2 separate regions of the Homo sapiens genome follow, and region 2 is linked to region 1. Evidence: promoter capture Hi-C in human tissues and cell types (Jung and others, 2019). All regions are on one chromosome and are shown on one strand. The core of a region is centred on a gene start or on the middle of the fragment in contact, and the rest is flanking DNA. Distances in the headings are between cores, read along the strand shown. Region 1 holds the start of CTAGE1 (cutaneous T cell lymphoma-associated antigen 1). Region 2 has its middle 12 kb from the start of GATA6-AS1.

The links. Contacts are between HindIII fragments. The study calls those that stand out against the background at their distance.
Region 2: a contact is called between a fragment that was not itself captured here and the fragment with the promoter of CTAGE1 in region 1, in 2 of the 25 tissues and cell types used here (H1 embryonic stem cells and thymus).

The regions. Positions count from the first base shown.
Region 1 is chr18:22,414,620-22,420,015 of GRCh38, reverse strand. It overlaps CTAGE1 (cutaneous T cell lymphoma-associated antigen 1), which reads left to right and starts at 2,101. Exons shown (of 1, transcript NM_172241.3): 1 at 2,101-5,396. The coding sequence starts at 2,205. The coding sequence ends at 4,442. It also overlaps the pseudogene ATP7BP1. The HindIII fragment of the contact is 3,989 bases long and covers 1,448-5,396 here.
Region 2 is chr18:22,154,943-22,159,991 of GRCh38, reverse strand. No RefSeq gene overlaps it. Among named protein-coding and RNA genes, the nearest start is that of GATA6-AS1, 12 kb to the left of the region's middle. The HindIII fragment of the contact is 8,115 bases long and covers 1-5,049 here.

The DNA of each region.
Region 1 (5,396 bases), core at 852-3,351:
ACTTCTACTTCATCTTTCCAGAAGTAGAATGCATACCCTATTGTTCTAATTTGCTTTTTTTTAATTAGTGAAGTTGAGTATCATTTTATCTGTTCACTGGACATTTTATTTCCCTCCTCTAGAATTGCCTGTCTCTTCGTACATACTTTTGTCTACTGTTTCTACTCAATTAACTATATTTTTATTAATGATTTGTAGTTCTTTTGTTTTTTCTTTTGAGACAAAGTCTTGCTCTGTTGCCCAGGCTGGAGTGCAGTGGTGCAATCTCAGCTGACTGCAACCTCCACCTCCCAGGTTCAAGAGATTCTCCTACCTCAACCTCTTGGGTAGCTGGGATTACAAGCGTCCACCACCACACCTGGCTCATTTTTGTAATTTTAGTAGAGTCGGGGATTCACCATGTTGGTCAGGCTGGCCTTGAACTCCTGACTTCAAGTGATCCTCTTGCCTTGGCCTCCCAAGGTGCTGGGATTATAGACATGAGCCACCGCACCCAGCCTAGTTCTTTATATATTCTGAATATTATTCCTTTGTCAATTTATATGTTGCATATATTTTCCAAATCTGTTACTTATTTTGCTTATAACGGTTTTGTCACCCAGAGGCCTTTAAATTCTAATGCAGTCAGCTTGTTGTCTTTTAATAATGAAAATATAAGAACTATACAAATATGCGGGCGGAAGATGGCAAAGGGAGCTGGTGCTTGTGCAAGTTGTTGAGGTGTGCTCTGTGGAATGATGGCTGTCACAGACACTGTCAAGCAGGAGGTTGCCCTGGCTGTGCACATGCTGCAAAGCATGCATGTGAACGTGATTCTGATCACGGGGGACAACTGGAAGACAGTCAGAGCCTTTGCCACCCAGGTTGGCATCAACAAAGTCTTTGCAGAGGTGTTGCCTTCACACAAGGTGACCAAGGTTCAGGAGCTCCTGAATGAAGGGAAGAAAGTCGCCATGGTGGGGGACGGGGTCAATGATTCCCTGGCCTTGGCCCAGGCAGACTTGGGCATTGCCACTGGCACTGGCACGGATGTGGTCATCGAGGCAGCCAACGTCATCCTCATCAAAAATGATTTGCTGGATGTGGTGGCTAGCATTCATATTTCCAAGATGACTGTCCAGAGGATATGCATCAAACTGGTCCTGGCGCTGATTTATAACCTAGTGGGCATACCCATTGCTGCAGGAGCAAGCTTTCCAGATGAGTTGAAGATATGTGCATGGGCGGGAGATGATGACTTATTGCAGGGCAAGGCGTCATCCGTGTTGAAGGAGTGCCAGTGTTTCAGAAATGGACACAGAGCAGGTAAGTTTGATGGACAGGTAAGAGAATCACTCTCTATGTGCCAGCACTGTTCTAAGAGTCCTGGATCTTCTGGGGATGAGATTAGCGTTTTTCAGTTGTACATGGGACAGCTGAGGCTCATGCTAGGGAGTGGTGAGCCCTTTCCTGGAAGAAGTTAATCTAAAAAGCATAATCTGTCTCATTTGGGAGGAGCTAAATAAATATCTCTTCAATGAAGCAAAGGTCAATCAGAAAATTTGTATTTTAGCTATAAAATTACCTATCAGAATTTACCATAGGGCATAATCTTAGTCAAGCACCCAAATTCATTATTTCAGCCACAGATACTGAAACACCAAAGGGATAAGGGGGCAGGTATTTCAGTTAGCTACTGCTGCATAACAAATGACCCCAAAGCTTAGTGACTTAAAACAATGATTTGTTATTCCTTATCATTCTGTCAGCTGGGAGGTTCTTCTGCCCGCCCCACCTGGGGTCATGCACAAGGCTACATTTAGCTAGGGTGTCAGCTTGGGATGGGCATAGCTGGGATGCTGGGTCACCTGAGTCTTTCTCACCATGTGGTACTGTTTTAAAATATAGGTTTTAGCGCTTCCTCAGGATGTAAAGTGTAACAAAGGTACCGGGGTGGGCAGTGTGGGTCTGTGAGGCCTACGGGTGCCCGCGTCCCCTAACTCCCCCCGCAGCCGGCTCCGCAGTGGTACGCTCCGGTTGCCCGTTAGGGATTCAGGTTCCAAACGGAATGCTGCGTCTTCTCCAGCGTTTGTTGTGGCCGAGGTTACTGCAGCAACCGCCAGAGCAGCCTTGGCGCTACGGAGGAGCCTAGGGCTAACCCTCAGCCATACCTGGGGCTGGTCCTGGAGTTGCTACGCAGGGTTGTGGCAGCACTGACTGAAGGTATGAGACCCGATTCTCATCCTTATGGTTTTCCATGGGAATTGGTGATACGTGCAGCTGTTGCTGGATTTTTTGCTGTTCTCTTCTTGTGGAGAAGTTTTAGATCAGTTACGAGTCGGCTTTATGTGAGAAGAGAGAAAAAGTTTGCTGTGGCACTTTCTGGACTAATTGAAGAAAAATGTAAACTACTTGAAAAATTTAGCCTTGTTCAAAAAGAGTATGAAGGCTATGAAGTAGAGTCATCTTTAAAGAATGCCAGCTTTGAGAAGGAGGCAACAGAAGCACAAAGTTTGGAGGCAACCTGCGAAAAGCTGAACAGGTTCAATTCTGAACTTGTGCATGAAATACTCTGTCTAGAAAAAGAGTTAAAAGAAGAGAAATCTAAACATTCTGAACAAAATGAATTGATGGCGGATATTTCCAAAAGGATACAGTCGCTAGAAGATGAGTCAAAATCCCTCAAATCACAAGTAGCTGAAGCCAAAATGACCTTCAAGAGATTTCAAGCGAATGAAGAACGGTTGGAGATAGAAATACAAGATGCTTGGAAAGAAAATTCTGAACTTCAGGAAAGCCAGAAACAGCTTTTGCAAGAAGCTGAAGTATGGAAAGAACAAGTGAGTGAACTTATTAAACAGAAAAGAACATTTGAAGACTCCAAAGTACATGCAGAACAAGTTCTAAATGATAAAGAAAATCACATCAAGACTCTGACTGAACGCTTGCTAAAGATGAAAGATGGGGTTGCTATGCTTGAAGAAGATGTAACGGATGATGATAACTTGGAATTAGAAATGAACAGTGAATCGGAAGATGGTGCTTACTTAGATAATCCTCCAAAAGGAGCTTTGAAGAAACTGATTCATGCTGCTAAGTTAAATGCTTCCTTAAAAACCTTAGAAGGAGAAAGAAACCAAATTTATATTCAATTATCTGAAGTTGATAAAACAAAGGAAGAGCTTACAGAGCATATTAAAAATCTTCAGACTGAACAAGCATCTTTGCAGTCAGAAAACACACATTTTGAAAGTGAGAATCAGAAGCTTCAGCAGAAACTTAAAGTAATGACTGAATTATATCAAGAAAATGAAATGAAACTCTACAGGAAATTAATAGTAGAGGAAAAATGCCGGTTAGAGAAAGAAGAGAAACTTTCTAAAGTAGACGAAATGATCAGCCATGCCACTGAAGAGCTGGAGACCTACCGAAAGCGAGCCAAAGATCTTAAAGAATTTGAGAAAACTATTCATTTTTATCAAAAGAAGATTATTCTCCATGAGAAAAAAGCACATGATAATTGGTCGGCAGCTTGGACTGCTGAAAGAAACCTCAATGATTTAAGGAAAGAAAATGCTCACAACAGACAAAAATTAACTGAAATAGAGTTTAAAATAAAACTTTTAGAAAAAGATCCTTATGGACTTGATGTTCCAAATACAGCATTTGGCAGACAGCATTCCCCATATGGTCCCTCACCATTGGGTTGGCCTTCATCTGAAACGAGAGCTTCTCTCTATCCTCCAACTTTGTTGGAAGGTCCTCTCAGACTCTCACCTTTGCTTCCACGGGGAGGAGGAAGAGGCTCCAGAGGCCCAGGGAATCCTCCGGACCATCAGATTACCAAAGAAAGAGGAGAATCAAGCTGTGATAGGTTAACTGATCCTCACAGGGCTCCTTCTGACGCTGGGCCCCTGGCACCTCCGTGGGAACAGGACTATAGGATGATGTTTCCTCCACCAGGACAATCATATCCTGATTCAGCTCTCCCTCCACAAAGGCAAGACAGATTTTATTCTAATTGTGCTAGACTCTCTGGACCAGCAGAACTCAGAAGTTTTAATATGCCTTCTTTGGATAAAATGGATGGGTCAATGCCTTCAGAAATGGAATCCAGTAGAAATGATACCAAAGATAATCTTGGTAATTTAAAGGTGCCTGATTCATCTCTCCCCGCTGAAAATGAAGCAACTGGCCCTGGCTTTGTTCCTCCACCTCTTGCTCCAATCAGAGGTTTATTGTTTCCAGTAGATACAAGGGGCCCGTTCATAAGAAGAGGACCTCCTTTCCCCCCACCTCCTCCAGGAACCGTGTTTGGAGCTTCTCCAGATTATTTTTCTCCAAGGGATGTCCCAGGTCCACCACGTGCTCCATTTGCAATGAGAAATGTCTATTTACCGAGAGGTTTTCTTCCTTACCGTCCCCCAAGACCTGCATTTTTCCCCCCAGCCCCCACATTCTGAAGGTAGAATGAGTTTCCATCAGGGTTGAGTCCGACTTCAAATGAGCCTGCTGCTGAACATCCAGAACGACAGCAAGAAACCTAACAACATGTTTGCCCTCTTCAAAAGTAATTTTGACTGATCTCATTTTCAGTTTAAGTAACTGCTGTTACTTAAGTGATTACACTTTTGTTCAGATTGAAACTTAATGGAACTATAATTCCCAGGATAGTATTTTGTAAATGAGGATGATTTAAATATGAATCTTATGAGTAAATTATTTCATTTTATTTTATTCTAGATAGTATAACTTTTAATTTGATTAATCCACTATTATATAAAGAATGGTGGGAGCTTTATATATGTAATCTTGCAGGTGGGGAGGCTTTAAATTGTCTTTATGTCAAGAACTGTATTTACTGTGGTTGTAGACAAATGTGAAAGTAACTTTATGCTTAAATAAGTTTTAGTTGATTAAAAAAATTTAAAAAATTTAAAAAAAGAAATATATAAATATGCACAGGTGGGAAGGTAGAATACTATGTAACTGTTAGAATATTTCACTTTAAACCAAGATGATCTTGGATCTCCTGTCTTATAGATTTTATATCCTCTTTCAGTACTTTGAGAGTGTAAAACATTTATAGCAGAAAGTATTCGTGTTTCCTCTGTTTTCCTCAAGAATGGTTTCTTCGCCCTCCCTTTCCTTCCCTTCGTCTTCCCTAAGCTAATTTCTTCCTATGTTTGTCATCATATCATTACATAATTGTGTTGTTATTTCTTTTGTTTTATTTTTATTTGGTGGGAACAACTTTATCCAGAACTTTTACTTGCCCCAGAATTATATAGATCAGTTTCTCCTGACTTCTTTCCCAACCTTTACCTCTGTTGGTGTTCTAATAGTTTTAGTTTTATGTTCTGCTTTTCTCTTGCTGTGGCAAGGGGAAGGAGTAAATCTAAGATAGTGCTTAATTG
Region 2 (5,049 bases), core at 433-2,932, 260 kb after region 1:
AATATCTCTACTCCTGGTCAGGCACGGTGGCTCACGCCTGTAATGCCAGCACTTTCGGAGGCCAAGGCAGGTGGATCACCTGAGGTCAGGAGTTCGAGACCTCTGTGGCCAACATGGTGAAACCCCGTCTGTACTAAAAATTCAAAAATTAGCCGGAGGAGGCTAATTCTTATCTCTCAGGAGGCTGAGACATAAGAATCACTTGAACCCGGGAGGTGGAGGTTGCAGTGAGCTGAGATTGCGCCACTGCACTCCAGCCTGGGCAACAGAGCAAGACCCTTCTCAAAAAAAATATATATATATGATTTTCATGAAGATTAAATGAATTAATATTTATAAAATGCTTAGAAGAGTGTTTGGCTCACCATACAGGGTTTTTGAGATGTTTGATAAATAAGCAAAAACACAAACTTCTATTTCAGGCCACTTTTTAAGGGGAAGAGAGGAGGTACCAAGGCCTCAAAGAAGTGAGGTAGGAGGGTGATCAAAACTAAAAAGAAAAGACGAGAAAAAGCTTTCAAGAATATCAGACATTTCCTATAGGGAATTATTTGCAATCATCAACTCACCCTGTCTGTCCCTAGGTGATAGTGCAAGTAAGTTTGTGTTTGTTTTATTTGGTCAAACTCCTTGATCCTGCTGAGACAAACACTATGGTGGGTACTAGGGAAGCAAAGATGCTTGACAATGCCCTGCCCTCAAGCTGCTCCCAGATAAGCAGGAGAGACAGACAAGATTACAGAAAATCGTCACACCAGGTGGCAAGTGCCACTGTAGAGAGAAATCAGGGGACTGTTGGAGTGCAACCAGAGAAGGCTTCCTGGAGCAGTCGTAAAACTCACCTGACTGAGTTTTGAGAAATGACTTAATCAGACAAGGTTTAGGAAGTGAGAAGCAGCAAAGATAATTAACTGGAGCCTTAGTGTGAAGTGCCAGCAAGAAAGCAGAGAGGTTGGCAGGATTCTAATGCAGCCAAAGATCTTTTAACTATAAAATTATACTAAAAATGTAGATGCAAAAATATGCCTTTTAGAACAAAAGATAAGGAGTGTCAATGAGAAAGAAATGATCAAACCTCCAAGTGTATTCACTGGAAAATTGACCTCAAGGATGAAAACCTCTTCAGACAGAGAGATCACTGTTGCATGCTATGAGGGCCAAGTCATGACTGAATCTGCTAAAGTAAATTGTAATTAGATTTGGGGCATTAAAGTGGAACCCAAAATAATAAAATTAGGCTGGAACACTAGAATGTCAGCTCAAAACGGCCGGGCACGGTGGCTCACGCCTGTAATCCCAGCACTCTGGGAGGCCGAGGCAGGCTGATCATGAGGTCAGGAGATCGAGACCATCCTGGCTAGCATGGTGAAACCCCATCTCTACTAAAAATACAAAAAATTAGTCAGGCGTGGTGACAGGCACCTGTGGTCCCAGCTGCTCGGGAGGCTGAGGCAGGAGAATGGCGTGAACCCGGGAGGCGGAGGTTGCAGTGAGCCGAGATCGTGCCACTGCACTCCAGCCTGGGCGACAGAGCGAGACTCCGTCTCTAAAAAAAATAAAAATAAAAAAGAATGTAAGCTCAAGAAAACTGGAATTTTTGTCTGTTCTGTTCATCACAGTTTCCCCAGAGCCCAGAACAGAGCCTGGCCCATAGCAGGCATGTCATACGTATTTGTTGAATGAATGGTACATGAAAATATATAGCACACTCCCCATAACCTTGCCACTCACTTCTCTGATGTTGAGACATGATATCACCAGCCTCGTTGATATGCCATCAAATAGTAATTCCCACTCACCAGCATCACAACCTATTGCCACATCCCAGGGCATTGTTGATTGCTTTCACTTACAATAATACCCTCACTGTCTTTGGGCCTGTGGCACACTCTCCCCAGGCCCTGGCAACCTTTTACTTAGACTGCTGTAGGTCTCTTGGGAAGCAGGTGCTTGAGGGCTGTCCCCTCACATTGGAACTGTAAATGAATTCTCTAACTGGCATCAGACTTTCTACTCACTATTTAATAGTCTTCATTCTCTACTTTCAAAATCCTGGCACCTGCACCTCACTTGACCCTCCTTCCTGTCCCACCTATGGCTTCTCTTCTCCCTCAAGCCTTCTCTCACGCACTGCTCTAGGGCTGAATAGAAATTCAAGCTCCCAGCTGGGCACAATGGCTCACGCCTGTAATCCCAGCACTTTGGGAGGCCGAGGCAGGTGGATCCCCTGAGGTCAGGAGTTCAAGACCAGCCTGGCAAACATGGCGAAACCCTCTCTTTCTAAAAATGTAAAAATTAGCAGGGCGTGGTGGCACACGCCTGTAATCCCAGCTACTCAGGAGGCTGAGGCAGGAGAATCGCTTGAACCCAGGGGTGGAGGTTGCAGTGAGCCGAGATCGCACCACTTCACTCCAGCCTGGGTGAAAGAGCAAAACTCCATCTCAAAAAAAAAAAAAAAGAAAAAGAAAGAAATTCAGCCTTCCTCCTTTCCTATTCCACCAGTCCCTGAGATTCTACCTCCTCCACGAGATCTCGCCTGACAATTTAGAAGAGGAACAGTGGGTTTTGTTCGTACATAATCACCTCATGTCCCTGGCACCAATACTCATGAATAGTCCAGAACCAATTTAACTTCGACATACAAGAGGTCTCCCAGCTTTAAGTGCTAGTTATGTTTCTGAAGAGTTGTGGGCATGTAGCATTTTTGAAATCCAAATTATTCAAGGCCACCCTGAGTGAAGAAAAAAAAATCAAATCACTTTCTGGTTGATTTACACTACAGCTTTTAATTCTTCATTTCAAACTAGTTATAAATTAGCAGTAACTTCCAATGTTTATAGTTTGCTTCTCTGTTCTCTATTGACTCTCCTTTAAGACTATAATTTTTTTTTTTTTTTTTTTGAGATGGGGTCTTGCTCTGTCACCCAGGCTGGAGTGCAATGGTGGGATCTCGGCTCAATGAAACCCCTGCCTCCCGGGTTCAAACGATTCTCATGCCTCAGTCTCCAGAGTAGCTGGGATTACAAGCATGCACCTCCCTGCCTGGCTAATTTTTTTTTGTATTTTTAGTAGAAACGAGGTTTCACCATGTTGCCCAAGTTGGTCTTGAATTCCTGACCTCAGGTGATCCGTCCGCCTTGGCCTCCCAAACTGCTGGGATTACAGGTGTGAGCCACTGTGCCAGGGCAAGCCTATAATGATTTTTAAATAAATAAGTTCATAGTTAATGCACTGGGAAGTATAGTTTTTACTTTCAGCTCTTTAAATTAATCACCTATATATTTTTATATATTTGTAGCAGAGGCTGCTCTCTGCCCTCTAATATTTGCTCTCCTTTTTATTTTATTTTTTGGGATGGAGTCTCGCTCTGTCACAGACCTGAGTACTGTGGCATGATGTCAGCTCAGTGCAACCTCTGCCTCCTGGGTTGAAGCGATTCTTCTGCCTCAGCCTCCTGAGTAGCTGGGATTCAAGGTGCCCACCACCACGCCCAGCTAATTTTTGTATTTTTAGTAGAGACAGGGTTTCACCATGTTGACCATGGCTGGTCTCGATCTCCTGACCTTGTGATTCACCCGCCTCGGCCTCTCAAAGTGCTGGGATTACAGGCATAAGCCACCATGCCCGGCCCCTCCTTTTTATACAGGAAAAGATGTTTTAGCTCTATCAGTTGTTGCCCAGCTAAAAACTACATTTCTCAGATTTTTTTGCAATTAAGGGGGGCTAAGAGACCAGGTTCTAGACAGTGGGATGTGAGATAGAATTGTAACTTCTGGGCCAGGTGCGGTGGCTCACGACTGCAATCCCAGCACTTTGGGAGGCCGAGGCCAGTGGATCACTTGAAGCCAGGAGTTCGATATCAGCCTGGCCAACATGAAGAAACCTGTCTCTACTAAAAATACAAAAATTAGCTGCGCATGGTGGCATGCACCTGTAATCCCAGCTACTCCAGAGGCTGAGGCACGAGAATCACTTGAAACTGGGAAGCGGAGATTGCAGTGAGCTGAAATCATACCACTGCACTCTAGCCTGGGTGACGGAGTGAGACTCTTGCCTCCAAAAAAATAAATAAATAAATAAATAACTTCTGGGTCATTCTCTTAAAAGCAAAGAAACATGCTTTTCCTCTAACCTTTGCTCAAACTACTGGCTAGAATTTAGACGTGATGGCAGGCACTGGATCAGCCACAATGAGACAGAAGCCACATATTGCACAAAGTTGCAGTAGAGGGTGTCAGTCTGTGACATCATAGAGCTTTAGAAAAAGATCACTTAGTCTCAGACTGTTCCATGAAAGATAAATAACTTTAACTTGTTTAAGTCACTGTAATTTTGGTATTTATCTTTGCAGCCAAAACATATACTTATAAATATGTACACTTATAAGGGTATATCTAATATATATGTGTGTGGGCTATGAGAATACTGAAACAAAACCCAGTGCGGGTATTATCCAGCTTAAGAAATAAAACATTATCAATATCGGCTAGGCATGGTGGCTCACGCCTACAATCCTAGCACTTTGAGAGGCCACGGCAGGCAGATGGCTTGAGCTCGGGAGTTCAAGACCAGCCTGGGCAACATAGCAAGACCCCTTCTCTATTTCAGAAACTTTTAAAATAATAATAATAATTTTAAAAAGACATTATCAATATCTCCGAAGCCCTTGTGTTAACCTCTTTGGTCATTTCCCCCTTGCTATCTCCACAGCCAGCAGCAATCAATACTATGAAGGTTTTTGCAAATAGGTAGCTCAGATTTCTGATAGGCAGCACCTGGCACCGGGCCCTGTGCACATCAGCATTTAGCAAGGGTTAGTTCTGATGGAGATGGTAATATTACTGTGGTCTCTTGAGGTTTCAGGCTGCCCTTCAGTCCAGGGCTCAGAACCTCCCAGGCTCCCCAGGAGATACTCTTGCTGCTCCTGCACAGAATCCCTGGTGCCTTGCATTCCATTGCTGGGTGCCTCCTCCTGGATCTCTGCTGGCCAGAGTTTCCTTCACCCACACAGTGGATGGTATGTCTGCCTTCACCAATGGCACTCCCCGC